3 separate regions of the Homo sapiens genome follow, and all the other regions are linked to region 1. Evidence: promoter capture Hi-C in 16 types of primary human blood cells and fetal thymus (Javierre and others, 2016). All regions are on one chromosome and are shown on one strand. Each heading gives the region's core, a stretch centred on a gene start or on the middle of the fragment in contact. The rest is flanking DNA. Distances are from core to core; before and after follow the strand shown.

What was found. Contacts are between HindIII fragments. The CHiCAGO score rates a contact against its expected background, and 5 or more counts as called.
Region 2: the fragment with the promoter of ZNF70 here is called in contact with the fragment with the promoter of GUCD1 in region 1 in 1 of 17 cell types (total CD8 T cells); the score reaches 5.0 in total CD8 T cells.
Region 3: a contact is called between the fragment with the promoter of SMARCB1 here and the fragment with the promoter of GUCD1 in region 1, in 9 of 17 cell types (non-activated CD4 T cells, activated CD4 T cells, erythroblasts and 6 more). The highest score is 10.5, in non-activated CD4 T cells.

The regions. Positions count from the first base shown.
Region 1 is chr22:24,553,499-24,557,549 of GRCh38, forward strand. GUCD1 (guanylyl cyclase domain containing 1) reads right to left here and starts at 1,640. Exons shown (of 6, transcript NM_001284254.2): 1 at 1,451-1,640. The coding sequence starts at 1,493. SNRPD3 (small nuclear ribonucleoprotein D3 polypeptide) reads left to right here and starts at 2,501. Exons shown (of 4, transcript NM_004175.5): 1 at 2,501-2,573. RefSeq lists a silencer at 1,389-1,748 and an enhancer at 2,209-2,308. The HindIII fragment of the contact is 4,396 bases long and covers 1-2,684 here.
Region 2 is chr22:23,748,911-23,752,961 of GRCh38, forward strand. ZNF70 (zinc finger protein 70) reads right to left here and starts at 2,202. Exons shown (of 2, transcript NM_021916.4): 1 at 1,801-2,202. It overlaps VPREB3 (V-set pre-B cell surrogate light chain 3), which reads right to left. Exons shown (of 2, transcript NM_013378.3): 2 at 3,833-4,051. The coding sequence ends at 3,966. RefSeq lists a silencer at 1,918-2,367 and enhancers at 1,960-2,635, 2,518-2,577, 3,418-3,477, 3,988-4,051. The HindIII fragment of the contact is 6,484 bases long and covers 1,511-4,051 here.
Region 3 is chr22:23,784,812-23,788,862 of GRCh38, forward strand. It overlaps SMARCB1 (SWI/SNF related BAF chromatin remodeling complex subunit B1), which reads left to right and starts at 2,155. Exons shown (of 9, transcript NM_003073.5): 1 at 2,155-2,451. The coding sequence starts at 2,359. The HindIII fragment of the contact is 10,586 bases long and covers 1-4,051 here.

The DNA of each region.
Region 1 (4,051 bases), core at 390-2,889:
GTTTTCCAAAAAGACCTCATACCTTGAGATGCCCAGGCCTACTTGTCACTTCCCTGCTCTGCACCCCTCCTCCCCCAGGCTTCCAGACTACAGCCCTCTGTGTGAGGCTCCCTCCTTACTCTGTGGCTTGGGCTGTGACACTGACTAGCTGGGCTATCTTCTGCCAGGCTATGACTGTCCATGCCTTTCCATGTCCAGCTATAAAATGTGGCACAAGACAGCAGCTCTCTCTCAGAGACTCAGCTGCGCCTCCTCCTCTTGCCCTGCGCTCTAGAACTCCTTGATCCTGAGGCCTGGCAGGCCCCACAGGGCCATCTCCAGCCTCGGCAAGGGCGGATCGGACCTAGAGGTGCTCATGTTGGGGGTGATAAGGTTAGGCGAGGCCTTGGCATCTGTCCCCATAACAGCTTTAGCCTTCTAAACACAAAGCCACAGCCAGACGTTGCTGCCTGGAGCCAAAGGGCTGCCTGGAAGGCCCTGGCCTGAGCTCAGTTAGTGGCTGTCACTAAGGAAGGCAAGCAGTGCACTAGCCTTTAATACTTAACCCATCTCAGACTCAGTCTGCTCAGCTGCAAAAGTGCAAATCACAGTGGGCACCTACTTCACTGGTTCGTTATGAGGATTAATGAGGCACTGCATGTAAACAACTGCACGCAGCGCGCGCCTGCCTCATAGAACACTCCCTGTGAATGTAAGCCATTCCTCCTCTGAGGCTCAGGAAAGGCAAGTATCTTGTCTCAGACCACAGGGCTAGACAACTGGAGGAGGAGGGTTGTAAATCCCCCACCAACTCCACACAGCAGACACAAAAGGGAACACTCCCTGGGAGTGACACCTGAAGGTCAGGGTCCCACATGCTGTTGACCTCTTCCACAGTTGGCACTTCACTTCAGAGTTTACTAGCTAGAACTCCGTTTGTCATCAACCCCGCGCCTTCAGCAGGACAGGAATCACGTCTTCCCCCTCCCCTACGTCTTGGGCAAGCAAACTAACGGCCAAGACATTGAATACCAGTCCGGGTCTCCGCCCCAAAGGGGCTCAGGCTACCGCGTGGCAGAGAGAACGAAAGTGAAGAACAAGAGCAAGACAAAACGCCGAGTCTCGGAGGCCAGGGCACTGGCCCTTCCATTGCTCGGTGCTCTCGGCCAGTTTCCTGCCCTTCCCAGCCTCAGTCCTCCACGGTTTCCCAAGGCATGGGAGCTCCCAAGGCGGCTCCAGCAGGACTTTTCGCTTCTGGGGAAGGTGGTGCCCCTGCTACCCGGACCTTCCCACCATGCTGACAAGGGTCGCAATCCTGCGAGTGTCAGGAAACCCCCACTGACTGGAACCAGGCGGGTGTGGGGGCGAGGCGGGAGTCGGCCCAAGGTCGCGCGACTGGACCCTGCCCCGCGCTAGGGAGGGGTCCCTTTCGTTCCTAGGGTGAAGACTGGGCCCACAGAGAGGCACTGACCGGGCTCGAGCGGCGGCCCCGCTGCCTCCGCCTCCGTCCTCATGACCCGGGCGGCGCGGGGCGCCCATGGCCCCGGCCCAGAGCGGGCTACAGCTTCCGCTTCGGCTGGGGCGGGAGGGCGGTCGGTGCGTGTCGAGTTCCTTCTCCGCCACCGCCGCCGCTGCGGAGGAGAGAACGGGAGGCGGCGGCTGGGCCGCCCCAAGCGCCGCCCCAGCCCTTCCAGGTCTCGAATCTGGAGGCCCCGCCCCCTCCTTAGGCCCCGCCCCAAACTTTGATCTTAGAGGTCCCCAGCCTCTTGATTTAAGTCTGCTCCGGCCATTCGCCGCCTCAGCGTTGAGTGGCCCCACCCTCTCGCCCAATCCTCGCGCAGACGCGCAGCTCACCAGGACGCGGGCCCCGGAAGCCCCGCCCCTTTCTTTGAGCCCCGCCCCAAAGCTCGTGCATTTCCTGAATAGAGGCTCGTCCCTTCGGCAAGCCCCGCCTCTGCCGGGTCCCGCTCTTTTGCCAGTCCTAGGTGTAAGCCCTGATCCCGCCCAGTGCATCCCCGAGGCCCCAAGCAACTCTCCTCCAACTGTCTTTAGGGATAACCCTGAGCGGGCAGCCGCTCTACTCTATACCTAACTTTATCCGTACCAGATACCTAGCCTCACTCAGGGCCCCCCTTACCTGGCGGTGCCGGGATCAACAAATGAAATTGTGACGGGAAGTCCTGGCCCTTGGCCCAACCTCCTGCTGTCCCCGGTCTGAGGGCCCAAGCCCCGCGTCTCCGCCTTGCCGTCCAGCCTGTCCTTGGTGTGGGGTGCTTGGAAGTGTGAGCACCCTCTCTGGCTCTTTGCCGGCCCCAAGGGTCGTTGCGGCGGCCCCCGGGCCCAGTCATCAGCCCTCTTTTCCGGTGCCGGAACTATCGTACTGGTGCCCTAGTTTCCCAGCCGGCAGGCGGAGTGAGGAGGAAGCGGAGGCGAGACCGCGCTCAACACTGGGGAAAGGAAGGAGGCGGGCCCTGCGCGCAGCATTTTGGGAAAGAGTGGAATTCTGGGTGTTAGGCCCGCCATTCGCTTGACTCACGCCTTCGCCGTAGCATCTTTCGCAGCGGACCGAAGAGAAGAAAAGTAGGCCAGAGCCGGTGAGGCTGGGGACGGGCGAGGGGAGGTCGAGGCGCCTGTGAGGGGCCAGGGGCTGGAGAAAGACTTGCTGCATGGAACTCTGCGGGGCTCGGGGAGGGAAGAAAGCGGGAAGCTTGGGCCACCCAAACATCAGCGTCGCCTCACTAGCTCCTGGAAGTAAGTTCATTAGCTTTCCCCTCAACGTGCATGCTTCTCACATTCTGTATCTCTCCAGGTGAGTGTTTTTCAAAGCTTCCAGGCAGTAATCTCGAAGTCATTTCTGATTGACTATCTCCTTCCCCCAAATCCTATGAGTTTTTTTTTGTTTTTTTTTTTTTAAGTAGAGACGGGGTTTCACCATGTTGCCCTGGCTGGTCTCGAACTCCTGGGCTCAAGGGATCCACCGGCCTCGGCCTTCCAAAGTGCTGGGATTACAGGCGTGAGCCACCGCGCCCAGCCGGTCATTTTTTAAAAAGTTCTTTGTATCTCTGCCCCAGTCCCCTTTCAGGCAATGGTCCCCTCATGCTTTCCACACTGTTGCAGCAGTTTTAACTGTTGCAGAAGTTTTAACAAGTTTCTCTGCTTCTAAACCTTACGTTCTATCCATTTTGTAAATAAATGCTGCTATCTTTTCATTGCGTCATTCTTTACATATAATTCTGCAGTGGTTCTCCACTACCTTCAGCATAAAATCTAGACTCCTAAGGCTGAAAGCCAGGGATCCTCACCAAAGGAGCCTGTCCTTTCAACCTCATGTTCTCCTGTCTTAGGTACGCTTAAGTTGAAACTTAGAGTTGTTGCTCATCTCAATAAAAAGTTCACTGCTTGATGCTTTTGATTAGGTCAAGTCAGGTGCTTTCCCTGATTTTCCTCCATGACAAGCATTTCCTGCATATAGCACGTTGTCACTTTGATATTTTCTCAATATCCTTGATAGTAAAATAAGTGAAGGGTTAAAGGGCTGAATTAAAAGTACAGCCTGCTCTCCTAGATGTGCATGGTCCTTTGGTCTGTATCTGCACCTTCCATAGGGTAGCCACTAGCTACATGTGGCCGTTGAGGACTTGGAATATGGCCACTGGGATTGAGGGACTGGGTTTTTTTATTTTAATTCTATTGTGTTTTAGTTAAGTTTAATTTAAATAGCTACGTGTGTACATGAGCTGCTGTATTGGACAGCTCGGGCCTGTATTATTCTCAAAACGTAATCATCTACAATTAAGGGTTAACAAATAACAGTGCAACAAATTAACATTCCAGTCCCCCTCCCCTGACACACACAGTATTGGCTAATGGTCCTTTAGCTGAAGATTAAGGGACATAGGGTAGCGGGGACACATGACCCATGGGAGATGCTCTCTTTTCATTCCTAGTTTTACTTCTGTCCATCCCATCATTCCTCCTCACCCCACATCTTGCACATATTTGCCAGATAGTTTCCTCCAAACCAGGAGCTGAGCTTTTTTTTTTTTCCTTGGTAGAAAATGCAGCTTTGGTG
Region 2 (4,051 bases), core at 952-3,451, 800 kb before region 1:
TGAACTAAAGTATTTTCTTTTTCCAGAATGGAGTGCAGTAGTGTGATTACAGCTCACTGGAACCTCTGGCTCCTGGGTTCAAGTGATTCTCCTATCTCAGCCTCTTAAGTAGCTAGGACACCATCCTGGCTAACACGGTGAAACCCTGTCTCTATTAAAAATACAAAAAAGGCCGGACGCGGTGGCTCACGCCTCTAATCCCAGCACTTTGGGAGGCCGAGGTGGGTGGATCATGAGGTCAGGAGTTCAAGACCAGCCTGGCCAAGATGGTGAAACCCCGTCTCTACTAAAATTACAAAAATTACAGCGCGTCTGTAATCCCAGCTACTCCGGGAGGCTGAGGCAGGAGAATCGCTTGAACCTGGGGGGCGGAGGTTGCAGTGAGCCGAGATCGCGCCACTGCACTCTAGCCTGGGTAACAGAGCGAGACTCCATCTCAAAAAAAAAAAAAAAAAAAAAAAAAAAAAAAAAGCCGGCCGTGGTGGCAGGTGCCTGTAGTCCCAGCTACTTGGGAGGCTGAGGCAGGAGAATGGCGTGAACCCAGGAGGCGGAGCTTGCAGTGAGCCGAGATCGCGCCACTGCACTCCAGGCTGGGCGACAGGACGAGACTCCGTCTCAAAAAAAAAAAAAAAAAAAAAAAAAAAGTAGCTGGGAATACAGGCTCTACAGGCACGTGCCACACCTGGCTAATTTTTGTATTTTTTGTAGAGATGGGTTTTCGCCATGTTGTGCAGACTGGTCTCGAATTTCTGAGCTCATGCGATCCACCCATTTTGGCCTCCGAAAGTGCTGGTATTATAGGCGTGAGCCCCCTCGCCCAGCCCTAAAGTATTTTCAAAAATTCTTTGATCACTTCAACTCCTCTCACCCTCCCCCTCCTCTTCAGCAACCCATAATCTCCAACTCTTCCAGCTCTCTCACTCAATTTGTGCTTTTCGACCTCATGAAATCCAAGCCATTTTTACTGTAGTTCTCCTTTTCTAGCTCCACCCCTTCTCCATCCAGCTTAGACTCTCCATACTATGCGCATCACTTCAACTCTCACGCTCTAGCACCATGCTCCTCACCTCCTCGTCCGGCTGCAACTAGCCGCTAAGTCCCAGTCTTCTCGGCCAGTTCCTCCTAAGTTGTTAAATGTTGCCAAGAAAAATCATACAACTATGTATGGCACCACGACAAATTTCGAGTTTCCGATTTCAGCTGGGACCTCAGCTCTGGCATTCTATGACCTCCTTATTGCCAATCCCTCTCTTCTCGGTCTTCACCTTCCCACCCCATCTGGCACTGCTCTCCAATACCTCCTTCTCAAAACCCTTCATTTCAGAGGTTGCAAATTGGCAGCCTGAAGATCCTGCTATGTTATGTTTGGCTCTCGAAGAGTTTGGCTTTTCCTGTTCATTTTCCTTAGTTACCAATATTTAAAACTCAGTAGGTTTCTGGCTTTCTCTTGAAAAACGAAGATGTGACAATATCCCTTCACCCGCCCACATTGCCTACCTAGGTGCATGAAAGCTTTGAGCTACCCCCCAACCCCATCCCCACCCTCGCTTTCTTCCCAATTTTCATGGCTTCCAAGTTCTCTTTCTTGATATCTTTAGATTGCAACTCTTCCTCCGCCCACCCATTAAGTCCTGGTGTTCTCAAACTTCCCTCCGTAGAGGTTTTCCATTCCCACTATATAGCCCCTACACCCTGAAGTCTCCACTCAGAAAAAAGTTGGCAACCCTTTATCTGTCTCCCACAACATGATAAGTGTTTTTGGACCGAAAATGCAAAGATCTGGAACTCCATGCTTCCCACCTCTGTCGGGGCCTTCTCCGGGTCCTCCTGCATCTGTCATCCCATCCTCCAGAGAGTCCCTAGGGCCTGGGCACCCTGCAAACTCTTAGTGCAGTCAAGGTTTCCTGGCTGGGGGCCCAAGAGTTGCCACGGACCCGCACACGCTGCCCAGGCGGCGACGTGGCGCCCCTACAGGCTTCCCCGCGATTGGGGACACGCACACCCAGGGCCACCGGAGGGACAGGTGGTCAGGCGGACTCAGGTCACACCGGCGGACGCGGGGCCACTCACCTGGGCCGGGGCGGGGCAGCTCACCTGGGCCGGGGCGGGGCCGCAGGCGGGCGGGGCGGGGCCGCACCTGAGCTGCTCCAACCCGCGGCCGACGCGGCCGACGCTGCCTGGCTCCACAGCAGCTGCTGACGCGGAGCCCGCGGCCGCCCGAGCACCCAGAGCCCCGCCCCCGGCCCGCGGGCACTTCCGGGACCACTCTAGGCCGCGCGGAGGTCCCGGCGTCTCGGTGGTCCCACCGCGCCGGTTGTCGCCGCGCGAAGCCGCCCGGGCCCCGGGACACAAGGACCCGAATCAGGAGAGTCTCTCCAGTCGGCATGGTGGCTCTGGCCGTCCCCGAAGCGCGTGCTGGACGTGGGGGAAACAGAGATGGGCAGGCGTTGGCAGGAGAGCAGAGGAGGAAACAGGTCCGGACGGGCGGGCCGACCTCGAGCCGCCGGCACTCGGGGCATCTGCGCTGGTGCTGGGTGCAAGCCAGAAGCCACTGAGGCAGCTGGGGTCTTCAGGGAAAGGAGAGTGGAGCCCCAGAGCTGTCGACCCTGTCACTGTCCACAGGCACCGGGGTCCTGTTAGGATCCCCCTCCCCCAACCTGCTTCAAGGGTAGCCCTGTTCCTGTCTGCCCTCCCCGCCCCCACAGAAATAGAGATGAGAAGGGGCAGGCGAAGAACTAGGAGTGTCTGCGAGACCATCCCAGGACCCTGAGCCCCCCAACTCTCTGCATCCCAGGGCTGACTTCGACATGAAGCGCCTCCTCTCAGGCGCACCGGGAGGGAAGAGGAATGTGTTCTTGAAATGGCCGCCCCCTTGGCCGGGCGCGGTGGCTCACGCCTTTAATCCCAGCATTTTGGGAGGCGGAGGCGGGTGGATCACGAGGTCAGGAGTTCGAGACTCAGCCAGACCAACATGGTGAAACCCTGTTTCTACTAAAAATTATCCGGGAGTGGTGACAAGCGCCTGTAATCCCAGCTACTGAGACAGGAGAATCGTTTGACCCTGAGAGGCGGAGGTTGCAGTGAGCCAAGATAGTGCCATTGCACTCCAGCCTGGGCGACAGAGCGAGACTCCATCTCAAAAAACAAAAAAAAAAAAAAGAAAAGGAATCTCCGCCCCCTCCTTGCTGCTGATGGCAAGACTGGCCCCTCCACCCAGTGTTCTGCCCATGACACCCCCCCCTCAGGTGCAGCTGCCCAGCTTGTGGGAGAGCTTCCCTCCGCAGACCTTGGCCCAATCACAGGACATCAGGAGAACACACTGTCCCTGGGAAAAAGGATTCTGCCCCAGCCGCCCACCTGCCTTCAGCACCCTCAGCCTTGGCGCTCGAGTGCCTCCAATGCTACCCACACACACCTGCCTTCCTGCCCCATTAATGCTCTGTCGGGCCTTGGGCACAGACTCCAAGGGGTAGGCAGTGGCTGCCCCTCCCCAAGCCAACAGCCTGAGCTCCATGGGGACCAGCCACCCTAGAGCCATAACCCTTGGACCATAACCAGCCATGCAGAGTTGGGGGCGGCAAGGGCTGGTTCCTTTTTCTCCCTCCGGCTCCTCAGGTCACAGGAAGGTCAGGCTACCAGTTTGAGCCCCCAGGGGGCCATGGTGGGGGAGTCTGGGCCATGCCCCAATAGTCTCAGGTGCTTCCTCTTTGACAACAGTCCCCAGAATCCCCATTCCCCCGCACACTGCTCCCCACCCCAGGAGTGGGTCTTCGACTCCCAGACCCACCACAGTCATTTTTCTCAGCCAGGATCTTATGACCCTCACAATAGCTGTTGTTGACATGTTGAATATTATTAACCCATTTTACAGAGGGGAAGCAAGGCTCAGAGAAAGTTTAAAAGGGACCCAAGGTCAGGGGCAGAAATGGGAGGCAGAGGGGAGGCACCCATCTCACACCCCACCCCTAGGGACTAAAGCCGTAGCCAACAGAGCAGTAGTAATCCGCGTCGTCTTCAGGCTGCACGGGACTAATGGTGAGGACACAGGCAT
Region 3 (4,051 bases), core at 905-3,404, 770 kb before region 1:
TGGCTCATGCCTGTAATCCCAGCTACTTGGGAGGCTGAGGCAGGAGAATCACTTGAACGTGGAGGCAGAGGTTACAGTGAGCTGAGATAGTGCCATTGCACTCCAGCCTGGGTGACAAGAGCAAAATTCCGTCTAAAAAAATAATAAAGTAAATAAATAGGCTGGGTGCAGTGGCTCATGCCTGTAATCCCAGCACTTTGGGAGGCTGAGGCCAGCAGATCACGAGGTCGGGAGATCGAGACCATCCTGGCTAACACCATGAAACCCCGTCTCTACTAAAAATACAAAAAATTAGCCAGGCGTGGTGGCGGGCGCCTGTAGTCCCAGCTACTCGGAAGGCTGAGGCAGGAGAATGGCGTGAACCCAGGAGGCGGTGCTTGCAGTGAGCCCAGATCATGCCACTGCACTCCAGCCTGGACGACAGAGCAAGACTCTGTCTCAATAAAATAAGTAAATAAATAAATAAATAAATAAATAAATAAGGGATGGTTACCTCTGTACTGAACATGTACGGACTTTTTTCCCTATCATTGTTCCCTAAACAATAGTATAACAACTATTTATATAACATTTGCATTGTATTAGGTAGTATAAGGAATCTAGAGATGATTTAAGGTATACAGGAAAGTGTGTGTAGGTTATATGCAAGTATGACACCATTTTATATAATGGACTTGAGCATCTGTGGACTTTATTATCTGCAGGGGGTCCTGGAACCAATTCCCATGGATACTGAGGGATGACTGTACTTTGGTTTCCCACCACTGTGAGGATACAGAACAAAGCAACTTCAGTCACTGCCCTTCCCAACTCTCCAGTGTCTCCTTGCCCTACCTTCCAGCCCCATGTGTGTCTTCGTAATAGCATAGTTGCATTTTTTTTTTTTTTAAGAGAGGCAGGGTCTCCCTTTGTTGCCCAGGCTGCAGTGCAGTGGTGCAATCAGCTCACTATAACCTTGAACTCCTGGGCTCAAGGGATCTTCCCCTCTCCACTTCCCAAGTAGCTGGGGCTACAGGTGCACACCGCCATGCCACACCCAGCTTATTTATTTTAGAATTTTTGTAGAGACAGGGTCTTGCTGTCTTGTCCAGTCTGGTCTCAAACTCCTGGCTTCAAGTGATCCTCCCTGCCTTGGCCTCCTAAAGAGTTGGGATTACAAGGCCGGGCGCAGTGGCTCACACCTGTAATCCCAGCACTTTGGGAGGCCGAGGGGGGCGGATCACGAGGTCAGGAGATCGAGACCATCCTGGCTAACATGGTGAAACCCTGTCTCTACTAAAAATACAAAAAATTAGCTGGGCGTGGTGGCGGGTGCCTGTAGTCCCAGCTACTTGGGAGGCTGAGGCAGGAGACTCCAGCCTCAAAAAAAAAAAAAAGAGTTGGGATTACAGGCATGAGCCGCTGAGCCCAGCCACAGCTGCAATTTCATTAGATTGAACGGTGTGAAATCATCAGTAGTGGGCCACTGTTTTACTCCCTGCATTATTCAATCATGATTGCTTTCAGACTTTCATTAGTTTCACTAGCTTCGCGCTGTAAGAGCCAAGAGGCAGAGCCACAGGGCTGGGCTGCCTGGTTTCACTCCCCACTGCAGGGCTCGGTTAAGCAGAGTGTAGGCTAAGAGAGGAATGGAGAAGGTGGAAGGTGTCTCTCCCTTCCAACGCTCATCTGATGCACCAGCCAAACCAAATACCACCTGGGCCTTTGAACATTGCCAAGCCTCATCCGCTGTTGTCATTTTGCCCACCTCCACAGCTGCAGGGACAGCCGTAGGCCCGGAACTGGGATATCTCTTCCTAGGGGCCTGCCTATCTGCTCAGCTGCACTGCGTTTTAGGGGTGGGGAAGCTAAGGCACGAGATTGGGGTCCCAAAGCATGCCCAGACCACCCAGGCTTCCAGATACTAGGTCCTCCTCCTTCAGGCCTCACTTCGTTGCTTTTCCCCTGGGCTCAGTTCCAGTCCTGGCTGTAAGACTGGGAAAGCCACTGCTTGAGTCAGGACCTCATTGGCTATTTTTGTCCGTGAGAAGTCCTCTACACCACGACTTGGGAGGCAGCCTGGGAGAAAGAGAAATTAGTCGTGGCTCCTTTAAGGGGTCCGCGGAGGCGCGCCCGGCCTTTTGTTTGAGCGGCGGCGCGCGCGTCAGCGTCAACGCCAGCGCCTGCGCACTGAGGGCGGCCTGGTCGTCGTCTGCGGCGGCGGCGGCGGCTGAGGAGCCCGGCTGAGGCGCCAGTACCCGGCCCGGTCCGCATTTCGCCTTCCGGCTTCGGTTTCCCTCGGCCCAGCACGCCCCGGCCCCGCCCCAGCCCTCCTGATCCCTCGCAGCCCGGCTCCGGCCGCCCGCCTCTGCCGCCGCAATGATGATGATGGCGCTGAGCAAGACCTTCGGGCAGAAGCCCGTGAAGTTCCAGCTGGAGGACGACGGCGAGTTCTACATGATCGGCTCCGAGGTAGCCCGGGGCGCGTTCTCGCCCTCCCCGGGCTCGGCCCCGCGGGAGCCCCGGGGCGGGCCCATGCGCCGAGAGCGCGCGTCTCCATTCATCGGGGCGGGCGGGCGCGCGCGCGCGCGCTCGGGGCTGTGGGGCGTGGCCTAGTGGGCGTGTCGGGTGTGGCCCCCGCCCCCTCATCGACCTGGGATTTCCTTACTTATTTCGCCGAGGTCCGCCGCCTTCAGTGCTGCCAAGATTTTGGCGCCGCGAGGGGCCCCAGTGGTTCCGCGCTGGGTTGGTTTCCAGTCAGACGCAAAGAAACGGGATATTGAGTTAGCCCCTGCGACGCTTGGGGGACTGCACTGCTGCCTTTGACCCTTTTTAGATGTCGTAAATTTCACGTGCACCCCTCCCCGTATTGCTACTTGTGGGAACCTCAAATGGCAGGCTGGAAACCCTGGACTTAGTGAGGGCTCATCCCCATTGTGTTTGTTGCCTCTTAGGTGAGCAGTGGAGGTCTTTTGACCTTTGTTTACCGGTGAAGAAACAGATTGGAGGAAGATGTTTGCTTTTGGGTGAATAAGGGCCCCATGCCTAAGCTAGATCTTTCAGCAGTTCTGAAGCGATTGACACTTTCCATATCTGTGAACTGATTCTGAATTATTACAGGGGAAAGAGCCTAAGGATGTTTAACCCTTAACTAGAGTGGCTGCATTTTGTTGCATCAACTGGATGACTGACTTCAGGAAAACTCTACTGGCCTTTGAATGGGTGTTTGTTCCAAGTCTATTAGGTTCTTGTTTTTTGTTTTTTATAGAGACAGGGTCTGGCTATGTTGCGCAGGCAGGTCTCCAACTCCTGGGCTCAAGCAGTCTGCCCGTCTGGGTCTCCCAAAGTGCTAGGATTACAGGCATGAGCCACCACACCCGGCCATATATTAGGTTTTTACAGATTGTCTCAAACTAGCCTTTTTTGCTCCAAAGGCAGTCCCCAGCTAGTATATGTTACCTTTTTAAAAAAATTATGGATATACAGTTCAGATGTACAAATGTCAAGCAGTAGAATCTCATGTAAGGAAGTAAGTGCCAATCCTGGAGAATTAAAGCTATCATGAAATGCCAAGAGTTTCTTCTCCTTATAGCAGTTTTTAGTATCATATTCCAGCATTTTATTCGTACTTTATTTTCTTTTATTTTTGAAAAAAGATCTCACTTTGTGCAGTGGTGTGATCTCGGCTCACTGCAGCCTTGACCTCCTGGGCTCAAGCGATCCTCCTGCCTCAGCCTCCCAAGTACCTGGGACTACAGGTGTGCACCACCGTGCCCGACTAATTTTTGTATTTTTTGTAGAGACAGGGTTTTGCCATGTTGCCCAGGCTGGTCTTGAACTCCTGGGCTCAAGTGATCCTTGCACCTCAGCCTCTCAAAGTGCTGGAATGACAGGTGTGAGCTACTGCACTCACACTCAGCGCATTCATACTTTTTAAACTTGTGGGTTTTATCCTTCACAATTGAGCATAGCATGAATGAATGAAGCCTCAAGATGGTCACACTGAGTCCCATGGATGAGACTAAGGTCAATAGCATCAGAACTTTAGTGTTAGCATTTTCCACCATTTTTT